2 separate regions of the Homo sapiens genome follow, and region 2 is linked to region 1. The links are contacts of gene promoters, found by promoter capture Hi-C in blood cells and fetal thymus (Javierre and others, 2016). All regions are on one chromosome and are shown on one strand. The core of a region is centred on a gene start or on the middle of the fragment in contact, and the rest is flanking DNA. Distances in the headings are between cores, read along the strand shown. Region 1 holds the start of THOC1 (THO complex subunit 1). Region 2 overlaps RBFA (ribosome binding factor A).

Region 1 (2,700 bases), core at 191-2,690:
GGCTCACTGCAACCTCCGCTGTCCGGGTTCAAGCGATTCTCCTGCCTCAGCCTCCCAAGTAGATGGGATTACAGCGCCCACCACCACGCCTGGCTAATTTTCGTATTTTTAGTAGAGACGGGGCTTTGCCATGTTGGCCAGGCTGGCCTTGAACTCTTGACCTCAGGTGATCCGCCCGCCTCGGCCTCCCGAAGTACTGCATTTACAGGCGTGAGCCACTGCGCCCGGCCGCCAATATGATCTTGGATAGTCCTAACAGTTACTCTTAGCAGGCTTTCAAAGCACCAGAGATTGCAGCAAAACGCACACAAAGAAAATGATTATGATGACATACACAAAATATAATCCATTTAAAAAAAACCTCACACTGTGTGTGTGTGTATATATATATTATACGTATACGTATATATATGTATATATATATATATATAACCCTGCAAACAAGAAAACTACTTACTACAAAGGATGAATTTTTCTTTCACACAATTTTCATCCTGGCATCCCTATAACTACCAAAACACAGCCGAATATCTGAGAAATGTTGGTGCAAATGCTAGAGACGAATAGAGTCAGGCAACTTAAAAGTGTTCTTCATACTTACGTTGCTGTGACGAGCAACATAAAAAGAACAGAGTGTCTAAAGTCAGAAAAACCACTGAAGTCACAACTTTTTGGGGGGTGTCAGCTTCTACCTCATGTACCAGGAATAACCAACTTAGCCTACTTCACAGTGTTACTCTAATAGTTAAATGAGAAAGTGATCTGTCAAGTGTTTCCCAAATGCTCAAAACCACCCTTCCACATTGAGCAAGAATAAAATAGCATCTGGTTACCCTTCCCAAGGTGATCTATCTGCCTTTTCCCGCTTAGGATCTCATCGATCGCTTAGGAGTTAGACACGGTGGGTTAAGGGGTGGTGAAGAGACGGCGGGAACAAGCACTTGGTAGCTCAGAAGGCTAGGGCGGGAGCCAGGTCTTTGGACTGAAACCACTCCCACCCTCCCCCTTCAGCAGCTCCCCTTCCCCTTCTCGAGACACCTGCCCCACTAAACGAGCTGAGAGGATGGACCCAACCAGCAGTAGTCTGCAGGTGGGCACTCCAAGCGGGGAGCCGAGGCGCCCAGCACGCAGTCCGGGGACCCGCTGGAGGGTGGGCGGAGGCGGACGGCCCAGCCCACAAAGAAGAGGCGGGTAGTGCGTCTTTCCCTACCCCTCAACCTCCGACGGGGCCCGGAGCGGACGCTGAGGCGGACACACCTCTGTCTCACTTTACCCCAGGGCAAAATTCGAGTAATTTCAGGGAGAAGAGGACAAAGCATAGCGCCGGGTCAGGCCTGCACCCTCCCCTCTACAGCTCACCGTAAACCGCGTCCGCGCTTCGGGCAAACTGAAGAGCGGCGGCGTCGGAGACATCTTCTCGGCTGCGCGTGCCCGCCACTGCGCTGCGGCGCCTGCCGATGACGTCAAGCCAGGAGCAACGAGACTGCGGTCTCTCTGAGCCCGGCTAGAGTGGCCTGTGAACACCGGTCGGGCGAGCTGGCAGTTGGGAGTTTCCCTAGCGACTCAGTTCGGGTGGGCGTTGGGCGCCTGAGTCAGCCAAACAGCCTACTCGGGGTTCTTGGGTAGCCTTTGGGGTGAGGGGACTTGGGCGGCCTTGGTCTGTAAGCTCTGCGTTCCCGGGCGTGGAAGAGACTGGCCGCGCACATGCGTTTCTGTGGTTTTCCTGGTTTGGGGAAAGCGGGTAAATGGTGGCTGGTTGCGGCTAACTGGGCCGCGCTAAAAGGTAACCCAAGGCAGGTGGATTACCTGGGGAAACAGCTGGAGCAGTGGTCCTGGGCCGCCAGTCCGCGGTCATCCCGGGAGCTTAAGATGCGGAGTGGTGATAGGCTCCGGATGTATGAGCCCTGTGGCTCAAGGGCGCTGTTCTCTCTGCTCCGAAATAGAAATAATACCTGTCTCACAGAGCTGTTGAAAAGCTCCACTGAAATAATGACCGCAAGTGTGAACTGTAAAGCAATGTAAGTAGTATTTATTATTAAAAGGTCTCTACTGAAAGAAAGAGACCTAGGAGGAATGCAGTGCCCGGCGCTGATTGGAAAACGGGTGGCGCTGCGTCCTGGGCCGAGGCTTCCCTAGCGAAAACCTTGTCTCCCTCCATTTCGTCCCTTGCCTGCCTTCCCAGGAGAGACGTGGCCGATAGAAGCCGAGTGGCAGTAACTCTAAGTTGGAGTTACACGGTGGAGAAGGAAGCACTGACTCAGACTCGGGTAACTTCCTCTTATTCCCTCACACGTGTATCTTGTTCCCTTCTTCGAAGTCTGTAAATTTAAAATCCTAAGCCCCCCAACAACTGAACAGACCCCCGTGAGGCCAAGGGGACACCAGCAAAATCTTAACAACTGAGTTCCCAGTCATAACGGGATGGGAGGTCAGACGGACCTGGTTATACCCTCTCCCTTTTGTGATTTAGAGGAGATAGCTGACTGGCCATAAAGTTAAAATAGAGGCCAGGCGCGGTGGCTTACGCCTGTAATCCCAGCACTTTGGGACGCCGAAGCAGGTGGGTCACCTGAGGTCAGGAGTGGATCACCTGAGGTATGGCAAACATGGTGAAACGCTGTCTCTACTAAAAATACAAAAATTAGCCGGGCGTGGTGGCACGCACCTGTAATCCCAGCTACTCAGGAGGCCGAGGCAGGA
Region 2 (2,798 bases), core at 255-2,754, about 80 Mb after region 1:
ATGGGTTATAATCCCGTGTTACTTAGTTTTGTTCGAATGTTTCCAGCTCAGGCCCTTAGGAGCTCACTAAGCTCCTATGTCCTGTTTGCATACCCTGTCATTGTGGGGTTTTGCTGGGTTCTGTGTGTGTTAAACACTTTCCTACTTTCTGGCACTACAAGATACTCCAGGCTCATCTTGTGTGTTTCGTACCACAGCCCTAAAATCAGCCATTTCTCCAAGAAGCCCTCGTTCCTTTTATTGGAGAGAGAGATTAGAAACCATGGGTGCTGGGTGTGTTCATTGCTTCTGGGGTGTCTGTCTTTTGGGCCATCTCATCTGACGAAAGGATATATGTGTTTCTACTAACCCTTGTGTAAATATGCACCTATAAACATTTCCGTGTATAGCCATCTGTCTCCAACTCCAGACGTACTGTGTGGATCATTCTAGCCTCCTCTCCTTGCTGATCTGTAAGTCGCACTCCAATGGTGAGCGTGGCTCCCACCATCCATTTGCTTAATTGTTCAGTCTCAGTCTATGCCTATAACAGTATCTGAATCCTTTACTTGAACTTCCATGGGAAACATCTTTATCAATTAGCGTATAGTGTTTATGTGCAGTTTGGTAGGTGTCTTTTTAAGATCCTCTCTCTAACCTTGGGACTAGAAGTAGAATTTAGGTAAAAATTATGAGGTTGAATTAAAACCATCTTCAGCCTCTTCCCCACAACCCATGTTGTTATCAATTAAATTCTGAAATTTTTTAAGATGTCCAGTAATGTAACATCTAAGTTTAGCCCCCTATAAACAGTTATGGTATCATAACCTCTTAAATTAGCTTATGTAACTTTTTGACTTTGCCATCACTAACATAATGCTTATTTTCTCCCCAAAGAAAAAAGGTTTGGTATGAAAGTCCTTCCTTGGGTTCTCACTCGGTGAGTATAAGCCATGAGCCACTTTATAATCTTGATGGGAGTGAGGGTTTAAAAGTTGGCAAAACTCTTACCTGGAGGTCTTTCCATTTCTGTATTGGAGGGGATAGTGTCTATGTGGATGCGACTGGATGCCATTGGCAACATGGAGTTTTGATCTTTTCAAAAAAAAATGTACTGACATTAATGTTTTCTGGAAAGTCATATCTTTTATCAAATTATAATATGGTAATATCCATTCAGTTTTTAGTGTGTGTGTACTGTAAAAGTTTATACAATATATGGCTCCCATTCTGAAAAATAAATACATCACGTTTCCAAAAAATTACTGAATTATTCCCTTTAGCACGGTGAACTTTATGGTATGTGAATTATATCTCAACAAAAACTTTTTTTGAGAAAATATTTACTGGCAGTACTTTTAATCTTGGAGGGTTACCAGGTAAAATTTAAAAGGATCCCGGTTTATAAAACTTTATCTTAATGAAAGCTGAGGCAGCTGAGAGTGATAGCTGCTGTTGATCTGGTTGCCCATCCAGCCCTCCCCCAGCCCCTGCTGTGTGACTTGGTGAGTTTGGAGTTGTAACGCTGCCCTTGGGGTGTGCTCTTCTTCCTGATGGAGACTTACAAACCATCCAAGTTGGAATTCCTCATGAGGAGCACCTCAAAGAAAACCAGGAAGGAAGACCATGCGCGCCTGAGGGCCCTGAACGGCCTCCTCTATAAGGCACTGACAGACCTGCTGTGTACCCCTGAAGTGAGTCAGGAGCTGTATGACCTTAACGTGGAGCTCTCCAAGGTAGGCTGTGTGGCCAAAGAGAAGAAATGGGTTGAGACAGCAGGCCTGGCACTTACTTTACCTGGCCCAGTCTTGCCTGACAATTAAAAAAAGACGCTTTAGACTGGGCGCGGTGGCTCACGCCTGTAATCCTAGCACTTTGGGAGGCTGAGGCGGGCGGATCACGAGGCCAGGAGATTGAGACGATCCTGGCTAACACAGTGAAATCCCATCTCCACTAAAAATACAAAAACTTAGCCGGGCATGGTGGCGGGCGCCTGTAGTCCCAGCTACTCGGGCGGCTGAGGCAGGAGAATCGCTTGAACCCAGGAGGCGGAGGTTGCAGTGAGCTGAGGCCGCGCCTCTGCACTCCACCCTGGGTGACAGAGCGAGACTCCATCTCAAAAAAAAAAAAAGCCACTTTAGCACTTATGAAGTCTTAGTTCTGGGTTGCAGAAATAGAAATGATGCTCAGTCTGGTCATTGGAGCCCTGGAGACAGATGGTGAGTGTCTGTGCTGTGCAGAGGCAGATGTCTCACTGCAAGGCGGGAGTCCTGTGACCAAACAGCACCTGGCACATTGTCAGATAGTAGAAGGTCTAAGCCTGCCGTGGGAAGAGGATGCATCTGCATGTACCTCAGTACAGAGGTACAGGAGATGACTTCCTCTGACCCACTCAGTGAGTTGTAAGGAGAAAAGGCAGCATCGAGCATTTTTGATTAGTGTCTCAGGGCAAGTGGCTGTGAGGCAAGCGTGGGGTCAGGGTTCCGGTTTGGTTCTGCAAACCAGGTGGTTTGGTTTGCGGGTCCTGGTGAAGAGAGGAGGGAGGTTTTGGTTTCTGGGGCCCTACTTCACCTGGGGACATGGTGCGGCAGCAGGAGGTGGCCTCCAGCAGCATGCCAGAGCCCTGGCTTGGGTGGGAGGGGCGTCTGCAGCTGTCGTTTTCATCTCCTGGATGTTGTTTGTCTTGAAAACCCATGTAAGCTAAAAAGTGACCTGTGGAGGGGCGGGGTCTCAGGTTTCCCTGACTCCAGACTTCTCAGCCTGCCGAGCGTACTGGAAGACAACGCTCTCTGCTGAGCAGAACGCACACATGGAGGCTG

What was found. Contacts are between HindIII fragments. The CHiCAGO score rates a contact against its expected background, and 5 or more counts as called.
Region 2: a fragment that was not itself captured here is called in contact with the fragment with the promoter of THOC1 in region 1 in 1 of 17 cell types (activated CD4 T cells); the score reaches 10.3 in activated CD4 T cells.

What each region holds. Positions count from the first base shown.
Region 1 is chr18:266,607-269,306 of GRCh38, forward strand. THOC1 (THO complex subunit 1) reads right to left here and starts at 1,441. Exons shown (of 21, transcript NM_005131.3): 1 at 1,360-1,441. The coding sequence starts at 1,413. RefSeq lists an enhancer at 1,310-1,779 and a silencer at 2,170-2,349. The HindIII fragment of the contact is 5,170 bases long and covers 1-2,700 here.
Region 2 is chr18:80,035,792-80,038,589 of GRCh38, forward strand. RBFA (ribosome binding factor A) reads left to right here. Exons shown (of 7, transcript NM_024805.3): 2 at 877-919; 3 at 1,539-1,715; 4 at 2,714-2,798. Among named protein-coding and RNA genes, the nearest start is that of RBFA, 2.8 kb to the left of the region's middle. The HindIII fragment of the contact is 4,600 bases long and covers 1-2,798 here.